3 separate regions of the Homo sapiens genome follow, and all the other regions are linked to region 1. Evidence: promoter capture Hi-C in human tissues and cell types (Jung and others, 2019). All regions are on one chromosome and are shown on one strand. The core of a region is centred on a gene start or on the middle of the fragment in contact, and the rest is flanking DNA. Distances in the headings are between cores, read along the strand shown. Region 1 holds the start of ZNF559 (zinc finger protein 559). Region 2 overlaps ZNF560 (zinc finger protein 560). Region 3 holds the start of ZNF560 (zinc finger protein 560).

Region 1 (3,407 bases), core at 579-3,078:
CCACTTGACTCTACCAGTCAGCAGGATGTGGGTGGGGCCACATAAGAGAATAAAAGCAGGCTGCCCCAGCCAGCAGTGGTAACCCGCTTTGATCCCCTTCCACGCCGTGGAAGCTTTGTTGTTTCACTCTTTGCAATAACTCTTGCTACTGCTCACTCTTTGGGTCCACACTGCTTTTATGAGCTGTAACACTCACCGCGAAGGTCTGCAGCTTCACTCCTGAAGCCAGCGAGACCACGAGCCCACCGGGAGAAATGAACAACTCCAGACGCGCCGCTTTAAGAGCTCTAACACTCACCGCGAAGGTCTGCAGCTTCACTCCTGAGCCAGCAAGACCACGAACCCACCAGAAGGAAGAAACTCCGAGCACATCCGAACATCAGAAGGAACAAACTCCAGACGTGCCACCTTAAGATCTGTAACACTCACCACGAGGGTCCCCGGCTTCATTCTTGGAGTCGGTGAGACCAAGAACCCACCAATTCCGGACACATTAGTACAGGTCTTTGAATAAATTTTGCTTCTAACAGAAGTTACTATTTATTCCTAATTAGATGGGCAGGAAAGTCTTTGAAGAGGAACCTCTACTTTACTTTTTACTGTAGAGAGAGTAGTCTTTGATCTTGGGGAGATGGGGTTTTTCCTTTTGGTTTAGCTTCAGGAAGTTTGTGTTAATTGGCCTTAGGTGCCCTGCCCCCAGCCCCAGGTGTTTTTCCTTTGATTTAACTTTAGGAAATTATCACGAATTGGCCTTAGATTCCCCGACCCCAGATCTTGGTGTTTTCACTTTTAGGAAGTCCGCATGAATCTTATCTATGCTCTTAACTACGTCCTAATTTTTGTGTTTTTTGTCTTTTTTATAGGAATAGGGTTTTGCCATATTGCCCAGGCTGGTCTCGAACTCCTGAGCTCAAGTGGTCTGCCTGCCTCAGCCTCCCAAAGTGCTGGGATCACTGGCGTGAGCCATCAGGCCCAGCCTCTATGTGCTAATTTTTGAACAAATTCCAATAGGAGCATTCTAGTCTCTGAGTGTGAGATGACCAAAAATCAAGCCCTTGTGAGGCTGAATAGAGTCGGGAGGCAGGGAACTTAAGGCTGTTTCAGGCCGACTTCCTAGAACTAAATTGAAAGGAAAACCCTCACTTTCCTCGCCTAAATAACAAAAGGACCAGAGGCTACTCCCTTTGACCTTTTCTGCTGGCAGATAGGAAATTGGCTGTCTGCAACAAATCAGACTGATGGCCGGTTGAGTCTTCATTTGCATAGAAGTGTAACTTTGTAACGTCGTAACTTCACCCTAGCCTTTGATTGGTTGCTTTTTGCAACCAATCAGATGTTTGCACAGGAGTGTGACCTTTGTAACTTCAGACTCTGGTTGGCTGCTTTCTGCAACCAATCAGACTGAACGCGGGCTACCGCTTCATTTACAGGAGGTGAGCATGAAGTGGCCAATGGGAAAATTCTAGGAGGTATTGGGACTCATGAAGGTTCTGTTTCGGAGCCCTTGAGCTGCCGCTTGGCCAGTTCCCACACTGTGGAGTATGCTTTCGTTTTCAACAAATCCCAGCTCTTGTTCTTTTGTTGCTTCATTCTTTCTTTGCTTTGCTGGGCGTTTTGTCTAATTCTTTGTTCAAAACGCCAGTAACCTGGACAGCTTGCAGTCAAGACCCCCTACCGGTGACACTTGCGCTCTTCGGGGAGGTAAACAGCATTTCCTCTCAGCTCTGGGTTGGAAAAAGCCGCAGCAGCTGATGGGCCCGGGAACCCGAGGCCCCGCCCCCTAGGTGGTCCTAGCCTTTGCGCGTGCGCGGCGTGTCTGCGTGGGCGCATGCGCATAACGGCCGCCATCTTAACAGCGCGTTCCCGTTGGCGTCTGAGGTAAGTTTTTGTTTCTGGGCGGCGTTCGGTGGTGTCCCGGTGCAGCCACGCGAGAGTAGAAGGGTGGAAAGGGGAGGTGCCCAGTGAAATGGAGCCTGTCCCGTGCACTTTCGGGCATTTCGAGCATCTTGTGGGCTCTCCCAAGTCGCGGCCCCTCCTCTGAGAGCCACAGTCAGGTCTGTCCTCAGGGGTCGAGGCGGCTGCGCTGGGGCCTCGGCCCGGGAGGAGGCGGGGGGCACGGCCTTTCCATTTTCCCTGCTCCCCTCTGCAGAAGCCTCATAGGGCCCGGCGCGGCGGCTCACGCCTGTCATTCCCAGCGCTTTGGGCGGATTGGGTAGGAGGATTACTTGAGGCCAGGAGTTCAAGACCAGGCAGGGCAACATAGGGAGACCCCCCCCCCCAACCATCTCTAATGGAAAAAAAAAAAAAAGTCTCCACATCCAGCGTTGTGCCTTTTCTCTATAAGGAACAGCATCTCTGCCTTCCTGTTCACGGTGACCTTCGCTTGGTGTCCTCCTGGCCTCAGCAACCTGACAATTCTGTCGTGTCCCGGTGAGCACTTCATGCACTTGTTCTGGCTGTGGGTGTCGGGTCTTGAAGTTTAAGTTGTGTCGAGGTGGAAAGAAACCTTTTCAGGTGGTTGTTCGAGAGCACATGGATCTGATACCATCGAATGCATGAGTGGATGAATGCACATAACTGTAAAATTTACCACCAAGGAAAAACACAGGACTACTCAACTGTGGTTCCAGGCCATCACCTAGATCTCACTCTAGCGCCCTGTAGATTCCCCCAGAGGTTCAAAACGAGGGCATCCCCAGGAACACGGTGCGGGCTGATTTACTAGCAGGAGGGATTGAATTGATAATGAATGCGAAGATAACTTTTGACAGGTGGGTTTTCTACCAGTTACTCATTTGAAAGTCTTACTGAGGGCGGGGCAAGGTGGCTCACACCTGTAATCCCAGCGTTTTGGGAGGCTGAGGCTGGAGGATCGCTTGAGCCCAGGAATTTGATGCCAACCTGGAAAAAATAGGGCAAGCCTCTGTCTCTACTAAAAATAAAAAATTAGCTGGGCATGGTGGTGTCTGTGGTCCCATCCACTTTGGAGGCCGAGATGCGAGGATCACTTGAGCATGGGAGGTCGAGGCTGCTGTGAGCCATTATTGTGTCACTGCATTCCAGCTTAGGCAACAGAGTGAGACCCTGTTTCAAAAAGAAGAAAAAAAAACAAATACTGATCTAGAGAACATCTGTAGCTCGAGTAAAACAAATGTCTTTAGTCCAGGTGTGGTGGCTCACGCCTGTAATCCCAGCATGTTGGGAGGCTGAGGCTGGCGGATCACGAGGTCAGGAGTTTGAGACCAGCCTGGCCAACATAGTGAAACCCCGTCTTTACTCAAAATACAAAAAATTAGCCGGGCGTGGGCACCTGTAATCCCAGCTACTCAGGAGCCTGAGGCAGGAGAATCGCTTGAACCTGGGAGGCAGAGGTTGCAGTGAGCCAAGATTGCACCCTTGCATTCCAG
Region 2 (3,097 bases), core at 222-2,721, 150 kb after region 1:
TCTGAAATTCACATTCAAGCTTAACTCATTTCCTGTTTGCCCCAAGAAACAAGCACTAGCAGTGAGCTGCACTTTTTCTTTCTAAATGGCAAATGTTAAATACAAATTCTAAAAACCACTAAAACCTTTATTAAAATAGAAACTAATGGAAGCTCAAAGAGAGATCTTGATTCTCCTGGGAAAACTCCCATTCCAGTAGTTCTGAACTTTAGAGTGAATTACTCATCTGAATACAGGGCCCCAACAGCAGACTTTTTGATTTAGTACATCGAGTCTGAGAATGTACACATATCTAAGACAGTGATGGTGATGCTACTGACGCAAACTACCATACAAGATTAAAACCCATTAGTACAGGAACTGTCTCTGTTATTTCCTATTTTACTCATTAAAAAAAATTTTTTTTCAGTGTGTATATATCCCACTGTATTCAGATTTGACATCACTAATCCTAGAATACAGTAAGTACATAATTTGTATCTTGTTCCAGAATAGGCTACAAGGGATGATGCCAGACTTACCTACTGAGGACAGGTTCTTGTAGTTCTCCAGCATCACATCACTGTACAGGTTTCTCTGAGCTGGGTCCAGTAAAGTCCACTCTTCCTGGGTGAACTCCACAGCCACACTGTCAAAGGTTACCAGGTCCTAAACCATCAGACACATGCTGATTTGAGCCAAGCAACATCTCCACCAATGTTGGCTGAAGAATGAGGAAGGGGGACCCAATCCCTGTACAGGGTACTGAGTGCTCCCACTATCTACACCCCAAGGTTCAGTGGCCCTAGGAACTCTTCTATCCACATTCACTCACTGTCAATTTCCTCCAATAACATGGCTGTAACAGAACCTCTTACACAGAAACTTATCAACCACAACTAGACCGGGAGCTCATCTCATTTGATTCCTCTCTACTGCAAAACACTCCTGAGCACATAACAAATACTTGATAAATGAGGATATGGATAAATTCCTTAAGAAAAGAACACTTTCATACCCCTTACCATCTGTCCTAGCACCCAGAAAAATAAATATGCAGTTGGCACCAGGAAAATGAACACTAATTCATAAATACAAAAATACTGAGATAATTTCCAGGGTAATTCCTCACCAATATGAGAGGTATGACTTTCTGGGAAAAATTCAACTAGGGTCTATATTTGCTTTAAGGAAGAATACAGACAGGAGTACCTACAAGAAAATGAGTCTTTGTTGATATCATTACTCCAATTTTAGAAGGATACAACTTTCACACTAAGTTTAGATCTCCCCAAATTCATCATTATCAGAGCATCTCTCCAGAGACATTGCTCCCTCTTGAGTGAATGCTATTCCTCTCAATTATCTTTTGTGCTTATTTTCTATATTGGAAGTCCCAATATTCTCTGAGTGTGAAAAATAAGAAATACCCTTTCTTAACATTACCATTTGTATCCCATTAGAAGTTTGTATTTTCCAAAACTCCTGCTGCAGTGCTGAAACACTGGTTTGATGTTTTATTGCCCAGTCTGAAACAAAAACATAAACTGAGGTTTTTTTTTTTTTTAAAAAAAAAGGTAAAATGAAAGAGTTAAAAATTATAGGCCTCATTCATATTTGTTTTTAAAATAAACATAAGAAAAAAGAAAGCTAAATTGAACATTTAGACTGTGTCAAAAAATTGGCAATAATGAGATTAAAGGGTCAAAATTTTAGCTAATTTGCTACAAATTGACTCATTTAGATTTAAAACTAATGTTAAACAGAAAGAATGTTATCAGAAAAGTAGGAAAGATCTGGGCCAAAGCCATATTTCAAAGCAAAGAACTTGAAAAACAAAATATATAGTTTCATAAGATCATAGAAAGTTGGAGTAGATGGAAATTTAAAGAGTATCAAAAATTGAATATTTTCTAACTTCTGAGATAAATGGCCTTAACCTTGTGAGAGAAGGTGCATCTTAAAAAGTTCCCTCAGAGGGCTGGGTGTGGTGGCTTACGCCTGTAATCCCAGCACTTTGGGAGGCTGAGGTGGGCGGATCACAAGGTTAGGAGATGAAGACCATCCTGGCTAACACGGTGGAACACCATCTCTACTAAAAATACAAAAAATTAGCCGGGCATGTTGGCAGGCACCTGTAGTCCCAGCTACTCGGGAGGCTGAGGCAGGAGAATGGCATGAACCTGGGAGGCATAGGTTGCGGTGAGCCAAGATCGTGCCACTGCACTCCAGCCTGGGGGACAGAGTGAGACTCCGTCTCAAAAAAAAAAAAAAAAGTTCCCTCATTATGTTTCTGATGGTTTGGATGTTAGTTCCCTCCAAATCTCATATGGAAATGCAACGCCAAATACTGGAGGTGGGGCCTGGTGGGAGATGTTTGGATCATGGGGGTGGGTCCTTCATGAATGGCTTAGTGACATACTCGGAGTAATAAGTGAGTTCTTGTTCTGAATTCATGTGAGACCTGGTAGTTTAAAACAGGAGTCTCCAACTCCGGAGCCATGGACCAGAACCAGGCCACAGCACAGGAGGTGAGTGGCAGGAGAGCAAGTGAAGCTTCATTTGTATTTATAGCTGCTCTCCATCCTAATTGCCTCCTGAGCTCCGCCTCTTGTCAGATCAGCGGCAGCACTTGATTCTCATAAAAGAGCAAAATCTATCATGAACTGTGCATGCGAAGGATTTAGTTTGCGCGCTCCTTTTGAGAATCTAATGCCTGATGATCTGTCACTGTCTCCCATCACCCCCAGATCCCCAAATGGGACCATCTGGTTACAGGAAAACAACCTCAGGGTTCCCATTGATTCTACATTATGGTAGAATTGTATAATTATTTCATTACAGTAGAGTTATGGTAGAGTTGTATAATTATTTCCTTATATATTACAATGTAATAATAGTAGAAATAAAGTGCACAATAAATGTAATGCACCTGAATCATCCTGAAACAATATCCCTGAGACCTGGTCTGTGGAAAAATTGTCTTCCATGAAACTGGTCCCTGATGCCAAAAAGGCTGGGGACTGCTGGTTTAAAACACTATGACACCACCCCCAACTTCTCTTTTACTCCCTTTCTCATCATGTAATTTGTCTGCTCCTCCTTTGCCTTCTGCCAT
Region 3 (3,247 bases), core at 253-2,752, 170 kb after region 1:
TCAAAAAAACTCTCAAAAAAAAAAAATCTTGAATAGAGCTCAGATCCAAAAACATTCCGTTATATTTTAGAAGAATTTGGAGAATTTTCATTTATTATACATAGTAAATATTAGATAACATTATTATTTTTAATTTTCTTGATGCAAATAGTATTACGGTTTTAGTAAAACAACACTCTTATCATTGAGTCAGGCATTACCCACTACTTAAATGTCGAGCTTACCATCCTGGCTATCACGGTGAAACCCCATCTCTACAAAAATACAAAAAATTATCCGGGCACGGTGGCACACCCCTGTAATTACAGCCACTTGGGAAGCTGAGGCAGGAGAATCGCTTGAACCCGGGAGGCAGAGGTTGCAGTGAGGCGAGATCGCGCCACTGCACTCCAGCCTGGGCGACACAGCTAGACCCCCTCTCAAAAAAAAAAAAAAAAAAAAAATGTCGAGCTTCATCTCTGCAATGAATTTCCCATTGACTCTCAAACTGTTCACCATAAAATTTATTTACGAGACGGCGAATACACAAAACGCTAAAAAACAGGTGCAGCTACAATGGATATTTATTCGTGGTACTGGATGGTCAACATACCCATAGGTTTAAGTTTTTTCGAAAAAAAATGCGGGAAAAATACACTTAGTACAGTCATCCTGTTAATGGTAAATTCGATTATTCTAGTATTAGTGTGTAAACCCTCCATCCTTTCTTCCAGGAAGCCTGGTTATGAAGCTCTTTGGAGACGTACAGAGCTAGGAACTTCAGATGAAAAGAATGGCTGAGTATTCTTAGGTTTCTTTAGTAGAAAGACTCGCGGTCTACAAACGTTTATATGCACATGCAGAAATACGCACACCCTAGACAACTAAGAAAGCACCTTTCTACCGGAACGTAATGTGTCAATAAAAAATATACAGGTTTCACAAAGGCAAAATGCCAAAATCTCACATGAAACACTCGTTTGCATAAAAAAGGAAGCAGCTGCCCCCTTAAACCAACTTTTTCCCAATGCTCACCCGAACACGGTGGAGTCGCCAGGTCCGTGGGGCTACAGGATCTTGGGGACGGAGTCAATCGAACGCGAACGGCAAAATTCTTTTCCCTCTGAAACACAATTCACAAACGTTGCCTTGGAGACTTATTTTTTAAGGCCTCAGAACGCTTGGACACTTTTGAAGACGGGAACACACGGCTGAAAACAGCCCTCGGACGCGCCCATACTGCACTTCCCACCCGGCTCCTCTAGGGGACCGAAGGTCCCAATGGCCTCTTCGACGTGGCCTCACCCGATGGCTCCGCGACTCCTGCGGACTCCTGTGGAGTGGTCCAGGCCTCTGTAAGGAGGTTCCTCGATTACCCTGGGTCGATTGTGACCTCTGCCACCCCCCGAAACACCGCCCAACCCACTAGTCCACACGAGCCTCACCAAAGTAGTGAACGACCAGACAACACAAAGGAAAAAGTGGCTCTGAGGAAACAGGCGCCAGCGACCAAAAGAGAGAACTGGCGCGCCGCAACGTCACTTCCGTTTGGGGCATTGGAAGGGGCGTGGCTCGTTGTGTGGGCAGTTGGACAGGATGGAACTCTTCAGGATTCTAGTTTCCCTCCGCGTGGGTGCGGAGGTATCAAGGGGTCGGCTCAGTGCCTGGGTGGGCAAGAGAGAAATGGACCCACAGAGAAAGGTGGGGGTTAAATCAGGGCTGTGGGCGGGGCCCATGCCCGGGGGCGGGGCTGGAGGTGGGACCAGACCCAGCCGGTGGCTTCGGTGGCAGAATGGACCAGGAAGGCGAAACGTCGGGCGATGGACTCGCCCCTCAGGATGCTCATTAGAAACTTTCCCCACGTTCCTGGACCCCTTTCAGGATTCTCTCCAGTTGATAACCTGCCAATCCACAAAATGGCCTGCTTCCTGCATTCGATCACGTCTTTAGAACTTTATTTTCTCTTATTTCTTTTTATTTATCTGACCTTGCTAAACTCTAATCATTGATTCCTCTGCGTTTTCAGTTATCGATACTTTCTGTAAATATTGCAATTTTTTTCTTTTCTTTCTTTTTTCTTTTCTTTTCTTTTTTTCTTCGAGGTAGGGTCTGGCTCGGTTGCCAAGGCTGGAATGCAGTGGTAGGAACACGGCTCACTGCAGTCTCCACCTCTCCAGGCTCAAGCCATCCTTCCACCTCAGCCTCCCGAGTAGCTGGGACCACGGGCGCACCGCACCCGGCTAATTTTTGTATTATTATTATTATCATCATTATTATTATTTTGTAGAGACAGGATCTAACCATGTTGCCCAGGCTGGTCTGGAACTCCTGGGCTCAAGTGATCTGCCCGCCCTGCACTCCCGAAGTGGGATTACAGGCGTGAGCCATCATGCACCATGCCTGGCCTTATTGTATTTTTTTTTCTTCTTCAACAATGTATTTGTTACTATTTCTCAAATCTTATCAAATGATTCAAAGCCTCCTGTACTACTTTATGAAATAACACTGATACCAGGCATTCTTCACTTATTCTGTGCAGAAAAAGAAAGGACTGTTGGACTTGTGGTAGAGATTTAGTTGAATCTTCGGGTTATATTGGTATCTTTATAATACTGAGTCTTCCTATGTGTGAATATACAATATCTCTCTATTTAGGTCTTCTTTAAACTCTTTCAGTAATGTTTTGAAATTTTCAGTTTACAAATATTTTACCTCTTGGGGTAAAGTTATTCCCATGTAACTTATTTGTAAAAGGGATCACATTCTCAGTTTCCTTTTCTGATTGTTCATTGCTGGTGTATAGATACAAAACTAATTTTCATCTCTTGATGTTGTACTGTGCAACTTTACGGAATTTATTACAAGCTCTGCTAGTTTTCTTGTAGATTCTTCAAAATTCTCTATATATCAAATATCACCTATAAATATATTTTTATTTGTTCTATTCTAATTGAGAAACCTTTTATTTTATTTTCTTGTGTAATTGCTCTGGCTAGAATTTCCTGTAGAGGCTGGGCACGGTGGCTCACTCCTGTAATCCCAACATTTTGGGAGGCCGAGGTGGGTGGATCACCTGAGGTCAGGAGTTCAAGACCAGCCTGACCAACATGGTGAAACCCCGTCTCTACTAAAGATACAAAAAATTAGCCAGGCGTGGTGGTTGGCACCTGTAATCCCAGCTACTCGGGAGGCTGAGGCAGGAGAATCACTTGAACCTGGGAGGCGGAGGTTACGGAGTTTGCAGTGAGTGGAGATGGCTCCATTGCAC

What was found. The method cuts DNA at HindIII sites, captures the fragments that hold promoters and counts their contacts. A contact is called where the count stands out against the background at its distance.
Region 2: a fragment that was not itself captured here is called in contact with the fragment with the promoter of ZNF559 in region 1 in 2 of the 25 tissues and cell types used here (H1 embryonic stem cells and aorta).
Region 3: the fragment with the promoter of ZNF560 here is called in contact with the fragment with the promoter of ZNF559 in region 1 in 2 of the 25 tissues and cell types used here (IMR-90 fibroblasts and adrenal gland).

What each region holds. Positions count from the first base shown.
Region 1 is chr19:9,322,351-9,325,757 of GRCh38, forward strand. ZNF559 (zinc finger protein 559) reads left to right here and starts at 1,829. Exons shown (of 7, transcript NM_032497.3): 1 at 1,829-1,878; 2 at 2,345-2,430. It overlaps ZNF559-ZNF177 (ZNF559-ZNF177 readthrough), which reads left to right and starts at 1,829. Exons shown (of 13, transcript NM_001384659.1): 1 at 1,829-1,878; 2 at 2,345-2,430. RefSeq lists an enhancer at 1,673-1,922 and a silencer at 2,093-2,232. The HindIII fragment of the contact is 8,356 bases long and covers 1-3,407 here.
Region 2 is chr19:9,469,871-9,472,967 of GRCh38, forward strand. It overlaps ZNF560 (zinc finger protein 560), which reads right to left. Exons shown (of 10, transcript NM_152476.3): 6 at 1,426-1,508; 7 at 522-648. Among named protein-coding and RNA genes, the nearest start is that of ZNF560, 27 kb to the right of the region's middle. The HindIII fragment of the contact is 4,169 bases long and covers 1-3,097 here.
Region 3 is chr19:9,497,114-9,500,360 of GRCh38, forward strand. ZNF560 (zinc finger protein 560) reads right to left here and starts at 1,503. Exons shown (of 10, transcript NM_152476.3): 1 at 1,425-1,503; 2 at 1,015-1,102. The HindIII fragment of the contact is 15,358 bases long and covers 1-3,247 here.